Regions from separate parts of the Homo sapiens genome. Here region 1 is linked to region 2. The links are contacts of gene promoters, found by promoter capture Hi-C in human tissues and cell types (Jung and others, 2019). All regions are on one chromosome and are shown on one strand. The core of a region is centred on a gene start or on the middle of the fragment in contact, and the rest is flanking DNA. Distances in the headings are between cores, read along the strand shown.

Region 1 (5,144 bases), core at 86-2,585, 100 kb before region 2:
GTACCCCTCCCAGGTCAGCCTGCAGGTCAGCACGTCATCTTTCCTGACAGATTAATGAGAAGCCCCTCAAACACGTTCTGCCCCAGGACCTGGGCAGCCTCACTGGGAAGGTCTGGAGAGGCTGCTGCCCTGACCTGCACTCATAGTCACTTGACTGTGCCACATCCCACTCCTGCCATCTTCAGGGATCGGGGGAGGACTGCAAAGCATTGATTCAGCACACAGCCATTGAGCCTTCTGGGCGGGTTAGGATTCTGCTGCACATAACAGAAGCCCAGGCGGGCTGGCTCCAGCAAGGAAGAAAATGTGTTCTACAGATATCGAGGTGTCTTGTGGTGCCCACGGGCAGCCAAGTTAGACCAAGGTGCTAGAACTATAGATAAGCACGGTGCAGAGGTCCCTCCTTCCCTCCTCGCTGCTCTACCCTGCCTCCCTCTGTGTTCCCTCTGCACAGACTGCTCTTCCCCCTGCCGCATGGTAGGGAATGTGGCTAGCTATGGCTCCCAGGTTACTTCTCAGGGTTCCAGCCACTGGAGGAGTTAGGGTATGTGTGTCTCAGTGTCAAGTCCAGCTTCCTCCTCCTCTTCCTCTTCCTCCTCCTCTTCTTTCTCCTTCTCCTCTTCTTCCTCTTCCTCCTCCTCTTCCTTCTTCTGCTCCTCTTCCTCCTCCTCCTCTTCCTCCTTTTCCTTCTTCTCTTCCTCCTCCTCTTCCTTCTCTTCCTCCTCCTCTTCCTTCTCTTCCTCCTCCTCTTCCTTCTTCTCCTCTTCCTCCTCCTCCTCTTCCTTCTCTTCCTCCTCCTCTTCCTCCTCCTCCTCTTCCTGATCCTCTTCCTTCTTCTCCTCCTTTCTCCTCTTCTTCCTCCTCTTCCTCCTCCTCTTCCTCCTCCTTCCTCCTCTTCCTCCTCCTACCCCTCCTCTTCCTCCTCCTCTCCCTCCTCTTCCTCCTCCTCCTACTACTGCTACTCCTCCTCCTCCCCCTCCCCTTCCTCCTCCTCCTCTCCCTCTTCCTCTTCCTCCTTCTCCTCCTCTCCCTCCCCCCGTTCCCCACCTTCTTACTGCTCCACTTCTGGGCCAGTGCTGCCTAGTCCTGTTCTCTGCAGGAGGGAGCCCTGGAGGGGTTCTTTGAAAAGTGGAAGAGTTGGGAAAAAATGAGACAGTCTCACTGAAGGCTTTTCTGGTTGTAAATGATAGAAACACTTTGAACTGACCTAAGCCAAAGACAGGATTTCTCACAAGGAGGGCAGCAGATAGCGGTTAGGAGCATCAGCCTCAGAGCTGGCTGACTTTAGATCCTGACTCCGTCTTACAAGCTGGGAGGCCTTGCCCATCTATTTAAGTTCTTTTTGCCTCAGTTCCCTCATTTGTAAAGCGGGGTTATTAATAATACCTGTCTCATAGGGTTGTAGTAAGGTATGGGACTATAGTTTGTAGGGCACTTAGGGAGGTCGAGGCAGGTGGACCACTTGAGGTCAGGATTTGAGACCAGCCTGACCAACATGGTGAAACCCCGTCTCTAATAGAAATACAAAAAAAATTAGCCGGGCATGGATGGCGGGTGCCTGTAGTCCCAGCTACTCGGGAGGCTGAAGCAAGAGAACCGCTTGAATCTGGGAGATGGAGGTTGCATTGAGCTGAGATTGCGCCACTGCACTCCAGCCGGGCGACAGAGCAAGACTCCGTCTAAAAAAAAAAATTGTAGGGCAGAACTGTGTGGTACTTTTCCCTCACTCATTATAAGGGTCATGGCTGACACTCCTATAACCAGACACAGGGTAACAAAAAAGCAGAACAAATGTGTTTAATCAAAATTTTACGCAACATGGGAGCTTTCAGAAATGAAGACGCTCAGGTGAGGCACGGTGGCTCACACCTGTAATACCAGCACTTTGGGAGGCCGAGGCAGGCGGATCGTCTGAGGTCAGGAGTTCAAGACCAACCTGGCCAACATAGTGAAACCCTGTCTCTACTAAAAATACAAAAATTAGCTGGGCGTGGTGGCACGCGCCTGTAATCCCAGCTACTCGGGAGGCTAAGCCAGGAGAATCACTTGAACCTGGGAGACGGAGGTTGCAATGAGCTGAGATGGTGCCACTGTACTCCAGCCTGAGGGCGGGGACAGAGCAAGACTCCGTCACTAAAAAAAAAAAAGAAAAGAAAAGAAAAGAAAAGAAATGAGGACCCTTAGCCCCAGCTACCTGGGAGGCTGATACAGGAGGATTACATGAGTCCAGGAATTCAATACCAGCAAGGCCAATATAGTGAGACCCCCATCTCTTTAAAAAAAGAAAGAAATGAAGACCCCAAACCCCAGGGAAAGAGGTTTTTTTGTTTTTTTGGTTTTTTGTTTGTTAGAATTTGTTTATTTTAATTATATTTATTTATTTATTTTAAAACGGAATTTTGCTCTTGTTGCCCGGGCTGGAGTGCAGTGGCGTGATCTCGGCCCACCTCAACCTCTGCCTCCTGGGTTCACGCGATTCTCCTGCCTCAGCCTTCCGAGCAGCTGGGATTACAGACATGCACCACCATGCCTGGCTAATTTTGTATTTTCAGTAGAGATGGGGTTTCTCCATGTTGGTCAGGCTGGTCTCAAACTCCCAACCTCAGGTGATCCGCCCCCCTCTGCCTCCCAAAGTGCTGGGATTACAGGCATGAGCCACCACGCCTGGCCTGTTTGTTTGTTTGTTTTTTGACAGAGTCTCACTCTGTTGCCCAGGCTGGAGTGCAATGACGTGATCTCGGCTCACTGGACCCTCCACCTCCTGGGTTCAAGCAACTCTCCTGCCTCAGCCTACCAAGTAGCTGGGACTACAGGTGCCCGCCACCATGCCTAGCTAATTTTTTGTATTTTTAGTAGAGATGGAGTTTCGCCGTGTTGGCCAGGCTAGTCTCGAACTCCTGACCTCAGGTGATCCACCCACCTCGGCCTCCCAAAGTGCTGGGATTACAGGCGTGAGCCACCACACTCAGCCAGCTATCTGTTTTTATACTCAGGCTTGGTAAAGAGTGCACAAGCTTGTAGAAATGCGATTGGACAAAGGGTGTGATCTAATGGTGATAGGCCGAGGGGACCCAGGAAGGCTATCTGCTCAGATTCTTCTTGGCCTCTCTCTGCAGTGTTCCTTCCTACCCCTCTGGAATGGTCTTCAAGACAGAAGGGAGAGAGTGACCTGCCTAGTTTTATGGCTTGCTTTGAGGGAGAGGGGTTCTGGTCTCTGTGACCTGCCTTGGGGAAGAAGAATTCTGGTTTCTCTGACTCACTCTGGGGGAGAAGAAGGGCCAGAGACAGGAGGGCAGCAGAAGGGCAGAAAAACTTTGCTTCTGAGGCCTTCCAATTTCCGTTAGTTCAAAGCTCTCTGCTGGCCCCGGCGCCATGCTTTGGAATTGTGTTCTGAGCCCCAAAATGTTCATGCAAACAGTGCTCAGAGGAGATGCCCAATGCATCGCAGCTGCTCAATACATGTTAGCTGTTGTCAGTTTAGTTCAGACAAGCAGAAGGGAACTCTCACTCCTGAGAGAACATCAGCTCACTTGTGCTCTCAAGGCAACTCTATGAGGTGTCCATATCTATTGTTCCTGTCTAGCCAGTGAGGAGACGCAGGCTCCTCAGTTCTCCCTGGTAGTGGCAGATACACTTCCATCCCGAGCCTGGCCCTGTGCGTGGCTGCCCCCTTGTGGCAATGGCAGTGCAGTGATGCCCCCTTGTCCTCTGTTCTCGTGTGTGTGTGTGTGCGTGTGCGTGTGTGCGTGTGCGTGTGTGCGTGTGTGCGTGTGTGTGTGTGTTTAGGAGTCCCACACCAGTCCCACTCTGGCGCCCAGGCCAGAGTTCAGTGGCGCGATCTCGGCTCACTGCAACCTCCACCTCCCGGGTTCAAGCGATTCTCCTGCCACAGCCTCCCAAGTAGCTGGGACTACAGGCACCCACGACTACGCCTGGCTAATTTTTGTATTTTTAGTAGAGATGGGGTTTCACCATATTGGACAGGCTGGTGTCGAACTCCTGACCTTGTGATCCGCCTGCCTCGGCCTCCCAAAGTGCTGGGATTACAGGCGTGAACTACCGCGCCCGGCCTCTATTCTCTTCTTTTAAGGCTCAGCTGCCCAGGCTGAGAGGGTGGACAGGGATTTTGGCCCCAGATTTTGGAAACCCTGGGAAGTGATTGAAGGAGGAGCTGCAGCTGAGGGGCTCAGTTCTAAGCTTTGGAGACTGGCTACATTCTGTCCTGGGGTGGTTCCAGGAGTGATGCTGGGCAGACCACCTGATCCCACCCATGGTCTTTGAACCAGTGCTTCTCCACCTCAGCTGCACTAGGGAATCACCTGGGGACCTTTTAAAAATCCCCGTGTGGCCAGGCAGGGTGGCTCACACCTGTAATCCCAGCACTTTAGGAGGCTGAGGCGGGCAGATCACGAGGTCAGGAGTTCGAGACCAGGCTGGCCAACATGGTGAAACCCCATCTCTATTAAGATACAAAAAATTAGCGGGGTGTGGTGGCAGGCGTCTGTAATCAGCTACTTGGGAGGCTGAAGCAGGAGAATCGTTTGAACCTGGGAGATGGAGGTTGCAGTGAGCCAAGACCGCGCCACTGCACTCCAGCCTGGGCAACAGAGTGAGACTCCATCTCAAACAAAAAGAAAAAAAAAAAAATCCCTGTGCCTGAGCCACCCACCCATCATTGGGGTGGCCCAGGCATCAGTGTTATTTTGTTGTTGTTTGGTTTGGTTTGGTTTTTTGAGACTAGGTCTCACCCTGTCTGGAGTGCAGAGGTGTGATCACGGCTCACTGCAGCCTTCACTTTCGGGGCTCAAGAGCCTCCTACCTCAGCCTCCCGGGTAGCTGGGACTGCAGGCACATGCCACCATGATGGGCTTTTTTTTTTTTTTTTTTTTTTTTTGAGAGCAAGTCTCACTATATTGCCCAGGGTAGTCTTGAACTCCTGGGGTCAAGTGATCCTCCTGCCTCAGCCTCCCAAAGTGCTGGGATTACAAGAGTGAGCCACAGCACCTGGCCCATCAGTGGACTTTAAAGCTCCCCTGAGATTCCAGGCCGGGCGCGGTGGCTAACGCCTGTAATGGGAGGCCGAGGCGGGCGGATCACAAGGTCAGGAGATCGAGACCATCCTCGCTAACACAGTGAGACCCCCC
Region 2 (5,185 bases), core at 652-3,151:
TCCTCAAGGATAACCACTCCCCACACCCAGCTTTTTTTTTTTTTTTTTTTTTTTGAGACAAGGTCTCACTCTGTCACCCAGAGTAGAATATGGTGGTGTAATCACAGCTCACCGCAGCTTCCACCTCCTGGTCTCAAACTCCTGGGCTCAAGCGATCTGAGCACCTCGGCCTCCCAATAGTGTTGGGATTAGGCATGAGCCACTGCGCCCGGCCTACGTGCCGTTTTAAAATGATGTTCAAGAATAAGCAAAACCAACCTATGGTGGTAAAAGAACAGTGATCGCCTCTGTTTTCTTTTGCCTGAGGGAAACTCTGGTGTGCTGAAAATGTTCTGTATCTGAAGTGGTGGTGGTCACATAAGCTGTACATCTAAGATATTTGCACGTTGCTGTGTGTAAACCATAATTCCAACAACAACAACGACAAAATGGCAAGGTGGGGCTCGGTGGCTCACGCCTGTAATCCCAACACTTGGGGAGAACTAGGCGGGAGGATCGCTTGAGGCCAGGAGTTAGAGACCAGCCTGGGCAACATAGGGAAACCCGGTATCTACAAAACAACAATAGCAACAATTCGCTGGGGCGGGGGGGGGGGGGGGGGGGCGCCGCCTGTTGTTCCAGCTACTCAGCTACTCCAGAGGCCCAGGCGGCAGGATCGCTTGAGGCCAGGAGTTCTTGGCTACACTGAGCCGAGATCCCGCTACTGCACTCCAGTCTGTCAGATCCTGTATGGAAAAAAAAAAAAAAAGACAAAATAGTTAAACTATGCCTTTAATTCAATAAACTATTAAACTAACAATACCATGAAGAAAATCAGAATAAAGAAGAAAGATAGGCTGACGCAGGAGAATCGCTGGAACGGTGAGGCGGAGGTTGCGTGAACCGAGATCGCGCCACTGCACTCCAGCCTGGCGACAGAGTGAGACTCCAAAAAAGAAAAAAAAAAAAAAAAAAAAAAGAAAGATAGGCTGGGCCCGGTGGCTCAGGCCTGTAATCCCAGCGCTTTGGGAGGCCGAGGCGGATGGATCACCTGAGGTCGGGAGTATTCGGCACCAGCCTGACCAACATGGTGAAACCCCGTCTCTACTAAAAATACAAAATTAGCCGGGTGTGGTGGCGAATGCCTGTAATCCCAGCTACTCAGGAGGCTGAGGCAGGAGAATCGCTTGAACCTGGGAGGCGGAGGTTGCGGTGAGGCGAGATCGCGTCACTGCACTCCAGCCTGGGCAACAAGAGCGAAACTCGGTCTGAAAAAAGAAGAAGAAGGAGAAGGAGAAGAAGACTATCTGGGTTCCATCAACGATTCTCGTGCCTTTTGTCTTTAAACTTTGGTGCTGCCTTCATCAAAATCATACTAATGAAATTCGACGCGCGGGTCATTCATTTAATTAAAATGAAACCCCAAATCTGTTGACTATTGGTATCCTCATGACACTGTTCTATAATGTGACAGAAAAGACGAAGGTGAAGAACTATGGTTTCGGCCGCTGTTACACAGGAGGTAGCAGGTGGCAGGCCGTTTACACAAATTAGCTCGTTTTTGGAGACGAAGTTACCCCAGGCTGCCCGCTCGGATGAGCCTGCGAATTCAGGCCCAACCCAGGCCCCTCCAGGTCGGGAAGGTACGAAGAGCCCGCTGGATTCACACAGGGCAGGGGCGCCTTCGCAGGTGCGAGTGGATTCTGGGTATCGCGAGCGTAGGCCCAGGCGCAGCCCCTCTGCCTGCGGGACTGAACAGGCAGGTGCGTCCCAGCGGCCGGGCGGGCCGGGTCTCCCTCCTGCGGGCAGGCGCCGCGCTGCGGGGCGCGGCTGGCGGAGCGGGGCAGCCGGGCGCAGCGCCCCCTGGGCCTGAAGACTGGCGGGCGGCGGGGGCGCGCGCAGGCCGGCGGGGGCGCGCCGCGCTGCGAGGCCTGCGCGCCAGGCTGCGGGAGCCATGCGGCGATCGAGGAGCTCTGCGGCCGCCAAGCTGCGCGGGCAGAAGCGGTCCGGGGCCTCCGCGGCCCCCGCGGCCTCCGCGGCCGCTGCCTTGGCACCCAGCGCCACCCGCACACGGCGCTCCGCTAGCCAGGCCGGGAGCAAGAGCCAGGCGGTGGAGAAGCCGCCGTCGGAGAAGCCGCGGCTGAGGCGCTCGTCGCCGCGGGCCCAGGAGGAGGGCCCGGGGGAGCCGCCGCCGCCTGAGCTGGCGTTGCTCCCGCCACCGCCGCCGCCGCCGCCGACTCCCGCGACCCCGACGTCCTCGGCGTCCAACCTGGACCTGGGCGAGCAGCGGGAGCGCTGGGAGACGTTCCAGAAGCGGCAGAAGCTTACCTCCGAGGGTGCCGCCAAGCTCCTGCTAGACACCTTGTGAGTGCGGCGGGCCGGGGGGCGCGGGAGCCGTTGCCACGCGGACCCCCTCGGCAGGAGTCGGGCTCGCAGCCCGCGTGCAGGCCTTGGGCGCCTTTCAGCTCTGAGCCTTCCACGTTACGGAGCCGACGCGGCTCCCCCGTTAGCACTGGGGTTATTCCTTAATTCTAAGGGCGGCGGGGCGGGGCGGTGCTTCTAGGGCTGTGTGGCCTGGGAATGGAAAGGGGGCTTCGTCCGGAGCTTGAGGGCGCGCGCAGCCGTCTTGGGACACAAAGAGTCTTTCCCGGCCATAAGCATCGTGCTCGGGGACGTTGTCTCTTGCTGGCGCGCAAAGGGTGTGGGGGCCTTTCTTAGTGAAAAGAACATAAATCCCACGGCTTTCTCTTACCCGAATCCCCTTTTTTTTTGTGTTTGCACACGTGTTTTTGAGGGTGGGTGGAAGGGAAAGGTAGAAGCGTTGAAGGAAGCATGAATAGTTTTGAACTCACTGGGAAGCAAAATCCCGTCATTGTTCCAGGCACTGCCAGGGAGGGAGCAGGGGGCGGAGGTTATTGATCCGGGAGAGAAGCGCGCGCGAAGAGATGCTCCGGCCTCGCGCGGCGGCGGGGATACCTACGTAGGGAGGCTTTTATGTGCTCAGCCAGCTAATGCTCCCTGCCGCTCGCCCTCCTGGCTGCTCCGCAGTCTTTTAGATGGCCCGAGGAGCATCTCGAGTGTCCGCGATTTGGGAAAGAGCTTTTAACTGGGCTGTTAAAGGGCTGCCTTCTTTTCTCCAAATGCGATCTGGATTCCTGCCTCGGGGAACAGTTGTGCTACAGAGAGATATTTTAACGCCCTGATATTATATTTCAGTGTCAATTTTACGAATTAAAAAGAACAATCAAAACACTAGGGGGAAAAAACCGACAAGAATAACCTAGCAATTGCATAACCTGAGAATTACTTCTTTTCTTGAACATGTTCCTTTGAGCTTCTTGCGGAAGAAATTCTCTTAGGATGAGTCGTCCCCGACAGAAGATACATATTTGGTTTTCTGTGTGCTTCACTTTTTGGTTTTTCATCTTGGACTGCACACTGAATTTTTAAAAAACGTTCATCCATCAAACATTTGAGCACCTATAGGGTGACGGCTGCCTCTGGGCAGAAGGAATACGAAGATCCTTAGGAATGTAAAACTCATGGTGTCTTCAAGGCATACAGAAAAAAAGAAGAATGTAAAACTCAAATTTGAGATAAATTTTTATTTTAAGACAAACTGATAAATGGTCAAGAAAAAGTTTTAAAATATTGACATAAAAAAGCTGTTTTTCTCCCACTAGATTGCCATGACTTTGTACTTATAAAGTCTACTAAATTATATTCAAAAAGTGTGTATAACTGTACCATTTTCGTTAAAATATTGTGTAGAAAAAAGTTTGGGGGAATATATAACAAATAATTAACTGTAGATCCCTCTGGGTGTAAAGATTACAGGAGGCTTTCACTTTGAGCACTCTCAAATAGTGTGAAGTTTGGAGTTTTTACAATAAGCATTATGTGTGCAGAAAAAATTAAAATACATAAACGTAAAGAAACATGAAAAAATGATCAGTCTTAATCATGCAAATTAAAACTGCAGTGAGCTATTTTTCCTATAATTATTGCCTGAGACTGTACAGTGAAATGTTTTCTCATTTATTTATCGGGTAAGGGTGTTCAATCCTTTTGGAAAGCGATTTTAAGACATTTATCAGATCTTAATGTTCATTTCTGAGTTTGGCTTATATATAAGCTTTAAAGGGTTAAAATTGTATGTAGGCTGGGTGAGGTGGCTCATGCCTGTAATCCCAGCACTTTGGGAGGCCGAGGCGGGTGGATCACCTGAGGTGGGGAGTTTGAGACTGCCTGACCAACATGGAGAAACCCCGTCTCTACTAAAAATACAAAATTAGCTGGGTGTGGTGGTGGGCGCCTGTAATCCCAGCTACTCGGGAGGCTGAGGCAGGAGAATCATTTGAACCCTGGAGGTGGAGGTTGCGGTGGGCTGAAATCGCGTCACTGCACTCCAGCCTGGGCAACAAGAATGAAACTCCCTCTCAAAAAAAAAAAATTCTATGTAATGTGTATTACAACTATGTAAAACGCATGTGTATGAAGAATACTGGAAAGAAATAGAGCAAAAATATAAGAGCCTTTATTAAGTTTCTCAAAAGGCTCTTCTGGACCTCTGGACTTGATTGAGTACACAGTCTTATTTTTCATAGCAGCCTGTACCTCCTTTATCACAATCATAATTAATTATTATTTGAGTAAATTGTTAAGGTCGGTAAGGGTAGCAATCGTGTCTGCTGTATCTTGTTTAGTGTTCTCTCCTTCGTGCCTAGCTCATAAAAATATTTAGTATTTGAGGCCCGGAGCAGTGGCTCACGCCTGTAATCCCAGCACTTTGGGAGTCCCCGTGGGTGGATCACAAGGTCAGGAGTTCAAGACCAGCTTGGCCAAGATGGTGAAGCCCTATCTCTACTAAAAATACAAAATTAGCAGGGCGCGGTGGCAGGCGCCTGTAATCCCAGCTACTTGGGAGGCTAAGGCTGGAGAATTGCTTCAACCCAGGTGGCAGAGGTTGCAGTGAGCCAAGATCGTGCCACCGTACTCCAGCCTGGGCAATAGACTGAGACTCCATCTCAAAAAAAAAAAAAAAAATTTAGTATTTGACATATAAATAAAAATGTCTGGTGGTGGGTTAGGATCCCTCACATTTTCGAAATGTTTGGAATGTTTTATTTTGCAACTTAATATAATTTAAGAAATTGGTGAAAAGAGAGCTCATGGACAAAGAAGGTGCTGAAACCATTCTTCACTT

The links. The method cuts DNA at HindIII sites, captures the fragments that hold promoters and counts their contacts. A contact is called where the count stands out against the background at its distance.
Region 1: a fragment that was not itself captured here is called in contact with the fragment with the promoter of CENPV in region 2 in 4 of the 25 tissues and cell types used here (aorta, hippocampus, neural progenitor cells and 1 more).

The regions. Positions count from the first base shown.
Region 1 is chr17:16,451,936-16,457,079 of GRCh38, reverse strand. The region is part of intron 2 of LRRC75A (leucine rich repeat containing 75A); the gene reads left to right. All of the region lies in intron 3 of SNHG29 (small nucleolar RNA host gene 29), which reads right to left. Among named protein-coding and RNA genes, the nearest start is that of SNORD65, 13 kb to the right of the region's middle. RefSeq lists enhancers at 1-197, 198-699. The HindIII fragment of the contact is 8,128 bases long and covers 1-5,144 here.
Region 2 is chr17:16,350,185-16,355,369 of GRCh38, reverse strand. It overlaps CENPV (centromere protein V), which reads left to right and starts at 1,901. Exons shown (of 5, transcript NM_181716.3): 1 at 1,901-2,343. The coding sequence starts at 1,934. RefSeq lists silencers at 1,692-1,841, 1,902-2,511. The HindIII fragment of the contact is 38,840 bases long and covers 1-3,208 here.